2 separate regions of the Homo sapiens genome follow, and region 2 is linked to region 1. Evidence: promoter capture Hi-C in human tissues and cell types (Jung and others, 2019). All regions are on one chromosome and are shown on one strand. The core of a region is centred on a gene start or on the middle of the fragment in contact, and the rest is flanking DNA. Distances in the headings are between cores, read along the strand shown.

Region 1 (6,715 bases), core at 681-3,180:
AATAGTAGTAGAAATGAGTAGACTTCTGAAGTTAAGGCAGGTTAAGGCTACTAGTGAGAAGTGTTGGGGTGAAAGTATGGTTCAGTAACATGTTAACCAAGTTTATCTTTCATGTATATTTCTTTACTTGGCCCCAAATCCTAGGCCATTGAGAATTTGTAACTAAAATGTTCTAGATGTTTCCAAAAGAGACAGAATATATCAGGGATAGTTTTCATTACATGCCTTCTTTAGTTTCCTGGTGTAGTTTTTTGAATATACTTATCTCCCTTTCCCCCATCCCCATTGCTAGATCTTTTAATCCAGGGGTCCCCAATCCCCAGGCCAGAGACTGCTACCGGGATCTGTGGCCTGCGAGGAACCAAGCAGCACAGCAGGAGGTGAGCGGAGGGCAAGTGAGTGCAGCTTTATCTGTATTTACAGGGGCCCCCCATGGCTGGCATTAGGGCCTGAACTCCGTTTCCTGTCAGATCAGCAGTGGCATTAGATTGTGATAGGAGCGAGAACCCTATTGTGAACTGCGCATGTGAGGGATTTAGGTTGCGTGCTCCTTATGAGAATCTAATGCCTGATGATCTGTCACTGTCTCCCATCACCCCCAGATGAGACTGTCTAGTTGCAAGAAAACAAGCTCATGGCTCCCACTGATTCTACATTATGGTGAGTTGTATAATTATTTCATTACATATTACAGTGTAGTAACAGTAGAAATAAAGTGCACAGTAAATATAATGTGCTTGAATCATCCCCAAACCATCCTCCCTCCCCCAGAAAAAACTGTCTTCCATGAAACTGGTCCCTGGTGCCCAAAAGGTTGGGGACCGCTGTTTTAATCATCAAGGATTCTGACGAACCTCTTTGAATTTTCTATTTAATTCATATTCCATAAGTAAAACTTGATTCCTTGTTTGTTTGTTTTTCCCCTAAGAATTTAGAAAGCAGAGTGCATGTTGGGGAGACCTGGTTTAAATTCGAGAAGCAGATAACACAAAGACAAGTAAAAAAAAAAAACATGATGTACACAGGATTGACAGAATAAAAAAAAAGTCTTTGTGCAAGGGAATGTGACTATACAGAAATGTGGAGAGGAAAATACGTAATGTTAGTGTTAATAACTTTTGACCCCATTTAGGTCACTTTGAGTAATGAAGCTCAAAACACTAGATTATATTTTTAGCAAAGTAAGTGCAGTATCCAGTCTCTCACAGATGTCATGTGTCTCAGGCCGTTTGGAAAATTCAGCATCTGCCGCATTCCCAGTCTTTGATGAGGACACTCCGCGAACTACAAGCACCCTCAGTGGGAGGACCTCCCAGGTCGGGGTGTGAGGGCCAATGAGGAGGCTGGGGAGGGGAGGCAAGAGTTACGGAAACGGGGCCACAGCACTCCAGATGCCGCGGCGGGAGGAAGCGGGGCTGCAGAGGACTCAAAACGCGTTCAGAGAGGCCCATCCAAATGCCAGGAGACAGACGGCAAGGATGCTTAAGAGGAGACGTGACTGGGCGAGGCAGATGAGGAGAGGGCCGTGGGCCAAGGTCACCCGCTAAGAGGCGGCAGGTTTACCACTGAGACACGAGGCCGTGGTTTTTGCCCGTGCCTCCAGAAAGAGCGTGGCGAGATCCCCGCAGAACCCAGGCGTGGGAGGCCCTGGGGAAGAGCCACGAGGCCCGACTCTAGTGGCTCAGGGGCCCTGGGCAGCGGCGCGCCACCGCTCGCCCCACCCTCAGCCGCTCTCCTCTTCCGGGCGCGCTGCTTGCCTGCGTGCGCCGGGACGCGCGGGGCCGAGCGTCTGAAGCGCGCCCGTACGCGGAGCGGCGCTTTCTAGGAGCCCCGCCCTCAGGTGCGCTCTGCAGGAGGCGGGGCGCGACTTCGGCGCCGCCAGCTCTGCCTGCGCCAGGAGCGCGCGGGTGCGCGCGGCCGCGCCCTCGCACAGATCCCAGCTGGGTCACCCGCACTGAGTCAACAGACTGAGCGCGTCCAGGCCTGACAGCTCTGCGGCTCGGGCCCTGAGGTGAGGCGGGCGTCGCGGGCGGCGGCGGCGCTTGAGGCTAGCCTGGGACAGCCGTCCCTGGGGGAGTTGAGGGGACGAGGAGGGGCTGGCCAGCGAGGGACGGCGGGGAGAGAAGGGGAGTTCGGCGTCTGAGGTGTGGGGTGAAGCGGGCTCGGAAGCGGGCAGAGGCGGCGAGCTGAGGGAAACAGACCTCCCTCAGCTCCCGGGAAGCGCGGGTTGCCAGCCTCGGGGATGCGGTGGGAGCGCCCAGGATGCGGACGTGAGGGGGTCGGGGCCCTGCGGCGGGGGCTCCGCGAGGCTCCCCTGGGACCGGGTCCGGCCGTGGGACTTCGGGACACTGCCTTTGCCTGGACGCTGTCGTTCCACCCTCAGCAACCTCAGGGAAAGAAGGAAAACAAATATTGATGTAAATTTCCGTCTGAACAGCTGGGTAATGAGCGCTTGCTCTTCCCTGCGAGGTTACGCGCGGATCATTACCTTGCGTGTTAAAAGGAGTTTCAGTGAGAAGAAAATGCGCAGATCTCATGACACAGTTTGGGAGGGAAATTCCCTGATCCTAAAACACGAATAGGAGCTCCAGGCATGGAAATACTTAATTGGATCGGAAAGCTGGGCAGGCTGGAGCTATTAAGCTGAAGGAGGTTTTCCCCTGGGCTCCTCAGGCTTCGATTTACGTTTTAAATAAATAAGTCCGAAAATAATGAAGATAATAACCACGTTTACTTTCTACAAGGGCGTTCTGAAGGAATCTAAGGGAAGAGGAGTATTTGCTGGACTACAGCTTTAAGCCAGGCTCGGTATTAGCTCTTTTCATTCTGACAGCAACCCTGTAGGATTGGAGGGGGTTATTCCAGTTGGGCAGGTGTGGAGAATGGGCCTCAAAGAGGTTAAGTAACTTATTAAGGTCTCAGCTAGTAAAAGGATGGAGTTGAGATTCCAACCCGGGCTGCCAGACCCTAATTCTGGTGCTTTATTTAGTATATTTTGTGTTTGCCGGGAGAGCAATATTGTATGTGTTTTAGGGAAGACTCCATAGTAGGGAACATTATTAGGGCAGTTAGGGCTTTGTGGGTATTTGTGTTAAAATCAAACTAAAGAGGCGTTAATCTTTGCATATGTGCTGTTTGAGTATATTTCCTTTCAAACAGATTTAGTGTAGGGAAATCTTACATTCACTATAAGAGCAAATTTATTAGTACATTCCATGTGTATTGCATGTCTTTTATTTTTAAAGAGACAGCGTCTCGGGCTAGAGTGCAGTGGTGCGATCAAAGTTCACTGCAGCCTTGAACGTCTGGACTCTAGGGACCCTGCTGAATAGCTGGGGCTACAGGCGTGTGTCACTGCGCCCAGGTAATTTTTTATTTGTTTTTCAGAGACGAAGTCTTGCTATATTGCCCAGGCTGGTTTGTTGCATGTCTTTTACATTCCAGATACCATACTATGTGCCAAGAGTACCGATATGAATACAATTTATAATCTCTGTCCTTGAGTTTAGTTGAGAGGGTGATTGCATAAAAGAATTTTATGATATTGTACTAAGTCATAACTTTTCTAGTATGTAAATTAGTTGGATTAAAAATAGTTTTAAGGGCAAGCTTTTAAGGACCTATTATGCATAAGAAAATTTATTGGATGACTTGTCCTCTGTGTACCATTGCATTGTTATTTTCTCCCTCAGCAAGAAACACTGTGATAAAATTTAGGTTAAATTATATTGACAACTAGCATTTTTTTTTTTTTGAGACAGGGTCTCATTCTGTCACCCAGGATGAAGTGCAGTGGCAGGATCTTGGCTCACTGCAGCCTTGACTTCGCAGGCTCAAGTGATCCTCCCACCTCAGCCTCCCAAGTAGCTGGGACCACAGTTGTGTGCCCCTACGCCTGGCTATTTTTTTTTTTTTTTTTTTGGTAGAGACAGTGTCTCTCTATGTTGCCCAGGTTGATCTTGAACTCTTGGGCTCAAGCCTTCCTCCCACTGGGATTGCCACGTGAGCCACTGCACCTGACTGCATTTTGTTTTATTATTGCACCACCTTACAGTAAATTTTAAAGCAATAAAGAAGATGAGAGCATTTATAATTTATCCCTTTTTAAGCTAAAAGGCATATTTTGTAGTGCTTTTATTTCATTGATTGAGAAGCAAATGATGTAGCTAGGCAGGAGTTTGTTTCATGTGCCAGATATGTTCCTAATTTCTCATTCCAAAAATATCTTAGTTTAAAAGTGTAGCTAATACCAGATTGCATTTAATTTCTTGTGTTTCAGAGTTGTAATGAAATCAGTCTTCAGTTTAGGCTGAAATGGCACATTGTTGAAATGTATAACATTACTTTGTGGTGGATTTTGGAAATCTCTTTTAATTGCTTCAGTTTTCTCAGTAAAGTAGGATTCAAGGTCATAATCTGAGGGTGATCCTACAGATGGAAGCTTTGGAGATTTGGGGATTGGGAAAGTGATGGACTAGTGGAATATGTGATTGCTAGGAAATTAAACATGACTCACAGTTGTGAAAAGTACAGTAGAGGAAAGATATGAGTGCACAAATTAGGGTGTCTAATTTTGGATACCAGAAACTTCATAATCCATTCCCAATGCCTGCCTTTACCGTGTTATCTAGAACATACATCTGCACCCCTTGCTCCGGTTCACTTTGCCTTATGCCTCTGCCATATGGCAGGTATCCCTGTTCTTCACAAAAGTCAAGCCCTTTTGTTTGGGAGTCTAGCTTTACCATTCTTTTCTTTCTGCCTGGAAATTCCATTCCACTCCTTTCCAGGCTCTTTCTCTCTTATCACATTATATTAAATTTTATCTCTCTGCAAAGTTAGTGACAGTGTCTAACTTTATTTTTTTTGCCTCATAATGTTGGATGCATAAATCCTTCAGTAAATGTTAAGTGAATATGCCACTTTTCTCACTTCCCCTCTTCTTCCTTTTTACAGGAGTTGACCAACGTTTTTTGTAAAGTGCCAGATAGTAAATATTTTAGGTTTGCAGACAGTATGGTCTCTGTCTCAATAACTTTACTGTTGTAGCACAAAAGCAGTCATAGATAATACATAAATGAATGAGCATGGCTGTGTTCCAATAACACTGTATTTATAGACACTGAAATTTGAATTTCATATAATTTTTGCATGTCACAAGATATTATTATTATTTTTCAACCTTTTAAAAATGCAGAAGCAGTGTTCCTCATGGGCTGTGCCAAACAGACTGAGGGTTGGATTTAGCCCCCACCTCTTTCATCATAGTTTGCACATCCTTGATCTTTAAGGACTCTCAGGAAGCCTTGATAAAGGAATCTGTGGTAAGATGATACTGGGTTTAATATTTCCATTGGTGGTGGAGAAACAAAGATAAATAAGACTGTTGTTTTTTTCATCAAGGATCTCATGGTCAAGTTCAAGATGAAAATATATAAATAAATAATGGTGACAGGGTATAGTTACTGCAGTTACAGTTATGTTTACTGGGTATAGAGGTAAAACAAAGGAGTGATAATCAGCTCCATGTCAATGTTAATAATGACATTTAGGCAATATGATTAAAAATTGAGTTTATTTGAGCATAAAACTTGAGGATGGTCACACAGGAGGACACAGACTCCTGAAGGATGAGGTAAATGCTCCAAAGTGGAGAGGTTTGAGGGTCCTTTACATAGGCAAGGCCTGGGGATGCTTAACAGGGTTACATCATTTTTCGTACGAGGTTAGTGCATAGTTAGAGCAATTCAATTAGTTATAGGCAGTGTTTCTTTTTGGGGGAAGGGTATATTTAACATTTCACATTAAGGATGTAATGGTCAAAGGGTCTTTTATCACAGTCAGCGGTCTTTTATCCCTGGCATCATCTGGTGTGATCTAGGAACAAGAAAATAAGGAAGGAATTTCATGTATAACAAAAGGTCAGTAATTAAGAGGTCAAGCTTCATGACCCAGTCTCCAAAGTCAACCTTCAGTGCCGAACAACGTTTAGAAGCCCCAAGTAGACAGACTATCCATTTTCTGTTACATCTGCTTAGGTGGATGAGAAGTAACCTCTAACAGTCATTTGTTGGAGGTAGGGAATGTATTTTCAGCTAGCCTTTCTGGAAATCTTTTAAGGATGCTAAGAAGGTGACCACGTTTCTTATCAGGATGGCTCTAAACATCAGGATGACTCAACTTATTTATTTTATAGGGTATAATCTTAATTTGTTTCTCACAGAAATAAACATGGATATGTTTTTAATCAGGTCTCTATGAAAATAATTTAAAAAATTTAAAGTTATTTTACCTGCTACATAATAAATGGATTGTTTATTCCACAGGTATTTAGTACCTCCTCTGCTGTGCAGTGAGTTGTTTTACTAGCTGAAAATATTTGAAGGAGATAATGGTATCATTAGATAAGTGATGGATTTTGCGGGGGAGGTGGGGGAAGAGAGAGGCTCTTCTAAGGAAAGCACTGCTTTTAACAAAGGCAGTAGGTATAATAGTAGAACTACCTTAGATTTTAAAAAATACTTTATAGCTTTCAAATTTCTTATTTTAATTAATTAAATTCATGCATCCTAAATAATTTTTCTCTAACAATTATTTCTAAAGGTTATGTACATTTTTATTACTTTTAGTGATGTGGAATATGTTTCGTAGGACTTGGAACGTAGTAACCAGCACTTTTTTTTTTTTTTTTTTTTTTTTGAGACGGAATCTTGCT
Region 2 (6,977 bases), core at 2,264-4,763, 210 kb before region 1:
ATATAAATAAATAAATAAAATAGGATTACAGGCTCCATAGTATCCTACAAGAATAACTGTATATCTACTGTATTTTATATGAAATTAATTTTAAAATGGCCTAGCGGGTGCATAAGCATATTTAAAAAGAGTAAACAGAACCAAAAAAGCCTTTGACTGGCTATTAAAAAATAATCGGGAAGAAAATATTCAACTTAAACATGTACTATGCTAGGATTTTCTCAAACATTACTCATATTTCCTTCTTTAACTGTGAGTTTTAGTTGAATAAAGATGGTAGAGTGCTGAGCACCAGGGGCTGCCTTTTAATGCACCCAATGGAGGCCCAATGAGATGGTCTCATCTCCAATTCATCCAGTTGCAAAATGGTTCAATCTTCAATCAAAGCTTAGGCAACAGAAGTGAAAACCTATGTGATTGGCTGTAACTATCACGCATCTTCCTGATCAGCTTTCTGTAACTCTTCCTGACTCGACATTTCCAAGCTGTGCTTCCTCATATCTAAGCCACCTCACCACAGCATTTGACACTAGGAATCCATGCTTCTAAGACATGCCCTGAGTTGGTCTTGAAGACAGCAGGGCTTGTGGCTGGGATAGCAGAGGAGCAAGCATTTAATGCCTGATGAATAACTGTGTTCCAGTAAGAAAGGGTGTCAGTGTTTTATTGCTTTTGAAATTGTGCATGAACGTAACTCTTCCTTCCCCTGCTAAAATGAAAACCTTGATAATTGAAACAAATCTAGGAATTAACATAAATTAGCAAATAGTCTGAATTTTATATATTTCTCCCCCCCAAAAATGTGTTTCTCCTACATTCAACATATACTTAGATAAAGCAAAGCATTGCCAAGTTTAGGTCCTTGCCATTTGTATTTAGCTTTTAGAATCATTAGTAATTAGCTTAGAATTGTAGTTACCAGAGTTTTGTTTGTTTGTTTGTTTGTTTTTCTTTGAGACAGGGTCTCACTCTGTTGCCCAGGCTGGAATTCAGTGGCACAATCACGGCTCACTGCAGCCTTAACTTCCTGGGCTCAAGTGATCCTGCCACCTCGGCTTCCTGAGTAGCTGGGGCTACAGGCAAATGCCACCATGCCCGGCTAATTTTTTGTACTTTTTGTAGAGGTGGGGTTTCGTCATGTTGCCCAGGTTGGTCTCCAACTCCTGGGCTCAAGCAATCTGCCCAACTCGGCCTACCAGAGTGCTGGGATTACAGGCATGAACAGCCACCATGCCCGGCCTATAGTTACCACAATTTAAGAAACGTTATTTTAATACAACAAACAATGCTAAGATATTACTTTCTTCACTCTTGCTTTTTATAGACACAGCAAGTGATAAACTGTGAATGCTGAGGGAGTATAATTTAAACTAATCATGCTTTGTCTTACTTTTTTCCACCAAAGTGAAAACAAAAAGCAAAATTTTTTTTCCTCCTTAGCTACCCCCCAAAAAGTTGTTCATCTAATTTAGCCCAGATATTTGATCAAAAATTGATCAGTCAAAGAGCATTTAAGTTTTCCTCAGTATTGAAATCTCTTAAATCATACTTTCCTTAATTTTATCTTAGTAATATGAGGCTTCTCATATCTTTTAAATTCAAAAATATAAATTGTATACACATAATTTGCTCTGTATCATGACAGGTTTATTAGCCTGGAAAAAAACTACTAAGAATAGTGACAGGTCCCAACCTATGTTTAAGAAGGATGTAGGATGAACTCTTTAACTCTCTTTCCTGGAGTTCAATTCCTGTCACTGATGTATCAATGAACCAACTCTTCCAATATGGTGATGTGATGATAATTTAGGTCTTAGTGACTTTGCCTTTTGTAGCTATCAGTATAGTCATGTTTACGTTGCTAACAATACTCACCATTAGCTCTGGGTATGTAGGCCGTTCTTTGGAATTCTTCTTTAAGCTTAAAGAAAAAAAAATAATCATTAAAATCTAGAAGCCATATATATTTTCATTAGACAAGGATTTCAGAACCTGTAGAACACTAAACATAATCAGCTTTAAAAGTGTATTGAAAACACAGCCTCCTATCTTGACTTTCCTCTTCTGTAACACTTATGTATCATGTTTTAAATCACCCTGGTTGTGCCTTAATGGGAAAAATAGTTGTGTGTGTGTGTGTGTGTGTGTGTGTGTGTACTTTCCTTTTGATACTTTACCGATGATATGCACACTAATTTTTCTGATCTATAGCCATTTTATTTCAAAAAATCTACTTTCCTTCAAAGCAGCTTTAATGCCATTTCCACAGACAAAGAAATTGGCAAGTGTTTCTTACATTGCCATTTGTTATCTCTTCACTGTCAGGTACCTGGTTCTTTTTGCTTCTGTTTCCCATGAATGTATAATTTGCTTTTATATAGTCCTAACCAAATCTGCCTGAGATAGAAGCAATAAACCCCTAATATTTATTTTCTTTTCCTTGAGACAGGGGCTGGCTCTGTTGCCCAGGCTGGAGTGCAGGGGCATACAATCTCGGCTCACTGCAGCCTCCACCTCCCTAGGCTCAGGTGATCTTCCTGCCTCAGCCTCCTGAGTAGTTGGGATTACAGGCACGTGCCACCATGCCTGGCTAATTTTTGTATCTTGTAGAGGCAGGGTTTCACCATGTTGCCCAGGCTGGTCTCGAAGTCTTAGGCTCAAGTGATCCACCTGCCTCAGCCTTCCAAAGAGCTGGGAGTACAGGTGTGAGCCACTGTGCCCAACCCCCCATAACATTTCTAAGGTAATACTACTTGTTTATGACAAAGGTAATAAGACCTGTTTATGACAGCTGATAAAAGAGAGAGCGCACTCAGTGACAGCAATTATTCTTGTTAGAAATACTTTATGGTCATGCGCTATTGTCAGGTGACTTCTGGTTATTCTGCTCTCCATTGACACAGACATTTAATAACATTTGATACCGGAGGCAATAAATGCTGTTACTTATTATTTAACAGTAATAAAACTGTAAGATGAAGAGACCAACCCATCACCCCATTCTCAGCCCATCCCTATCCTCTATCCAACTCTGGCCTTAAAATGAAAAAAAAAAAAGAAAAAGAAAGAAAGAAAAGAAAAGAAACAATTTACTTGGAGTTGGAATCCCAGGTTACAGAATGCAGAAAAAGATGATTTTGAAAACTATGATTTGCAAGGCAACCTACAGACTCCTGTGCCCAACGGACCACAAAATCATACATGAATGGAAAGGAGCTTTGCCTGGCATTGGAATGGAAAGGAATTTTGCCTGGAGTTGGAGGAATCAAAATGTAACTGATTGTTAGGTTGCTGGGATTTGAGCTAAGGGATCATTTTGAGCAAATGAGACCTAGCATGTGTGACGTGAGCTCTGCCTCACCCTCCGAAGCTAAGCATGACGGGGTAAGGTACAGAACCATGAGAGAGCGAAGTAGTTCAGGCACTTTGAGAAACTGTGGTTTAAAACGAAATAAAATTAAAAAAAAAAAAAAGAGAGAGAGAAAGTTTTTGAACCAAAACAACTTAAAATCAGCCTACCAGTTTGTTCCAGGCAATGCTGTGGGTGGAAGCCAGGGAACCTGAGACAGGCTACAGGTAGATGTGAGGACAGAAGTTTCAACCTGGAACTGAGGGCAGACCTAGGACCTAGTGACCTCAGTGACCAGACAACCTATGAGAGAAAGTTTCATCTCAACTGAGGATAAAAATAAGAGCGCATTAGAAAGAGGAATTAACAGGCGGCAAAGTCTGATTGATATGGGAATGTGTGCTGAGTGAAATGAATGAGTCCGTGTAACTCCCACCGATGGTTTTGTAGGTACCTAGATGCTGAGAGTCTACGTGGGTGGTTCTCAGCTGGAGGTCATTTTGCTCCCCAGGGGATATATGGAAAATGTCAGGAGGCATTTTTGGTTGTTACATCTGGTGGCAGGGTGTTACTGGCATCTAATAGGTAGAGGCCAGGGATGTTGCTAAGCATCCTGTAATGCACTGGGCAATCCCGCACAACAAAGAACACTCTAGCCCAAAATGTCATGAGTGCAGAGATTAAGAAACGCTGTGCTTTGTGTAATAGGTGGTCCCTCCTTGTTGCGGCTTCCTCTCCCCTTCACTTAAAAGGACCATCTCCAGCTGGTTTGTCTTTGTCTTTAAGCACATTCTCACCACGACCGTCTCCTGCCCTCAACCCCAGGAAGCAAAAGTGTTTCTTTCTAAGTTCAAGAGCTAGTTTACCTAGAAAGAAACACAGAAGAAGCAATGTGATCCCAGGAGCGTTGCTGACTTGCACACAGACCCTGGTAAAAAAAAAAAAAAAAAACAAACAGGCTAGAAGCCCTGAATTTCCCACTATTGTTCAAAGCAAATCAAAAACCAGAAATGCTTCTCTATCGCTGGAACAATGTAACACGCTAAGTAAATAACAAAAAGTGCAAGCACAACATTAAATCCACACTCAATATTCAGATGGTTGATTCTGGCTGTCTCTATTTAGACCTTAAACTCCGCATTGCATCTGGAACACTCTCACTGAGGACCCAGGCCCACTCCGTTACTAGCTTTCATTGGTCAACAACAGAACCAAGGCAATGTCAGGAAGAAAAGCTTGTTTCTCAAATGTAAAAATGTGCTGATTTTTTACCTTATATTTAGCAGAAAAGATAAAATGACTGTCTCTTTCCAACAGATAGATGAGCTTAAACATCTCCATTTTTAAAAATACTGTATTTTTTTTAAATGCTGTATTTTTTTAAAATACTGATTTTGAGTCAGGATATCTTATCTTTTCACTTCTGGAACAGCTTATAAAGATTTCTCGACCAGGTGCAGTGGCTAATGCCTGTAATCCCAACACTTTGTGAGGGTGAGACAGGTGGATCACTTGAGCTCACTTGAGGTCAGGAGTTCAAGACCAGCCTGGCCAATACGGTGAAACCCCGACTCTACTAAAAATACAAAAATTAGCTGAGCATGGTGGCAGGAGCCTGTAATCCCAGTTACTAGGGAGGCTGAGGCACAAGAATCACTTGAACCTGGGAGGCGGAGGTTGCAGTGAGCTGAGATTGCACCACTGCACTCCAGCCTGGGCAACAGGGTGAGACTGTATCAAAAAAGAAAAAAAAAATCTCCAGATTTTTGTTAACTCTGTATAAAGAAAATATGGGGAAAGTACCCTAGTTGATCCATCATAAAGTGTTAAGGATTCCTGAAACCTCCAAGACTAACTGGTCAATAGGCTATTCCTTGACTCATGGCCCCTGATTAGAAAGCTCACAATCTACCCCAAACACTACTGCAGAATATAGATGGAAAATACTTACACCGCAAAGCAAGGCTGTTTATTAAATTAATGGAACTGATATAACCCATTCTCTCCATCTTTTAAATCAAGAACACTTCAAAACATGGGCTAAGAATAGCAATACACTCAGGATAAGGTTGGGGGGAAAGCAAATTTTCCATGTTTAGTAGGAAGTACTTGAAATTCAGTATACAATAACAACTTTGGAGTTCAAAGCAACACCAATTTCTTTTTGAACTGGAATCAGACTTTTGAATTTTCAAAGAGCTTCTCATTTTCAAGCGTGCAATTAGCTAACTGCCCTAATTCCTTTTCCAAATGCCACAACACACGCTTCTGACCATAGCTGACACTAAAAAACAGCTCATGCTGTCTTGAGAATTGCTAGCTTGTAGTTTGTGCTGACCAGAGGATTTCTGCCTATTTGAATTCCCCCGATCATTTCCAAGAAGGGCTATTTGGTACATCCACAGAATAAAAACACATTGCGCGTTTCAAGGCATACATTTGTCAAAAGCTAAATAAACATCTAGTGCCTCTTTTTACTGTCCTTCCTACACAAGTAGGAGACTGTATTTGACTGTCTGTGTTTTATGCTAGTTTCCCTGAGTCAGACAATATTGATGCTTGAGTGGGCCTCCACTACCCTTCAATATGCCATCAGACTGGTCAGTTGGGCCCACAGCTTCTTAAATAGGCCTGGAGAAAAAGCCAAAGGGAAGTCCAGCTGATCTGGCACTCGGCAGTTGACTTCCAGTGACTTCCTTCTGTGAACCTATAGGAAGAGTTTATAATGAAAAGTGTAAACCGGCTAAGATTCCAATCTTTTGCGAACTCGTTTGTTAACCCTTCTGCAGGACTAGAAAGCAAGACTTCTCTATTAGACTTCTCTATGATGAATCTCAAAACAAGGCTGACATGGTCAACACAACCCAACTCAAGAACTCCTTAAAACCCCTACGATAAGAAAGAGATATATAGGAAAAAGAGGAAGAAAATCTCATTCTGTAGTCCTATCTCAAAATAAATACAGAAAAGAAGGGTTTGTAAGAAACCATTGTGGGTTTGCTTTTTTCCTTTACGTTCATATGGTTAATTCTTCCTTCTCCTTCAAGATAACATTTGTCAGATGTTACTGCAAAAGAAATGCAAAAACTGGAACTCTGGACTCTAGGTCTAACTTTGGGTGTGGTGATGATAGCCTGTTAGAGCTTTTCTACTTCACCCTACAAACTAAGTGATTTACTGTCAACTAACAAGCAGTGATCAATACTGATGGGCCAGACAAGAGTGGCTACCAAGTCAATTCCCTGGATACAGAATTATGGTACCTTGCAACATGGTGATGGCATCGTGCCAAGTTGATTCCTTGGCACGGGTATGATACCTAGGCAGGTGTATGATACCTAGTAGCTTTGTGACATCGAATGCTTAGGTAGGATACACAAGTTCACAAATACTCTGACAGTTACCTAGGCTGCGGGTATAATGGGTTCTTTTTCTGCATACCAAAGACAGATGTAGGCAATAAAAACATAGATGTATCTATCTTGAAATTTGAGATTAAATATTTCACTTTTGAAATCCGTAGTCTCCCTTCCCCACTTAGCACATAGAGCGGCCTTTCTGAGAAGTCTGGGAGGACCATAGCCTACATAATAAAAATATAAAAAACATGGAGCTCACGAAAAAAAAA

What was found. Contacts are between HindIII fragments. The study calls those that stand out against the background at their distance.
Region 2: a contact is called between a fragment that was not itself captured here and the fragment with the promoter of ABCA5 in region 1, in 1 of the 25 tissues and cell types used here (dorsolateral prefrontal cortex).

The regions. Positions count from the first base shown.
Region 1 is chr17:69,322,348-69,329,062 of GRCh38, reverse strand. It overlaps ABCA5 (ATP binding cassette subfamily A member 5), which reads left to right and starts at 1,930. Exons shown (of 39, transcript NM_172232.4): 1 at 1,930-2,011. RefSeq lists an enhancer at 1,424-1,563 and silencers at 1,644-2,023, 2,154-2,243. The HindIII fragment of the contact is 9,468 bases long and covers 1-4,025 here.
Region 2 is chr17:69,531,059-69,538,035 of GRCh38, reverse strand. It overlaps MAP2K6 (mitogen-activated protein kinase kinase 6), which reads right to left. Exons shown (of 12, transcript NM_002758.4): 11 at 1,876-1,921. Among named protein-coding and RNA genes, the nearest start is that of MAP2K6-AS1, 49 kb to the right of the region's middle. The HindIII fragment of the contact is 4,717 bases long and covers 1,155-5,871 here.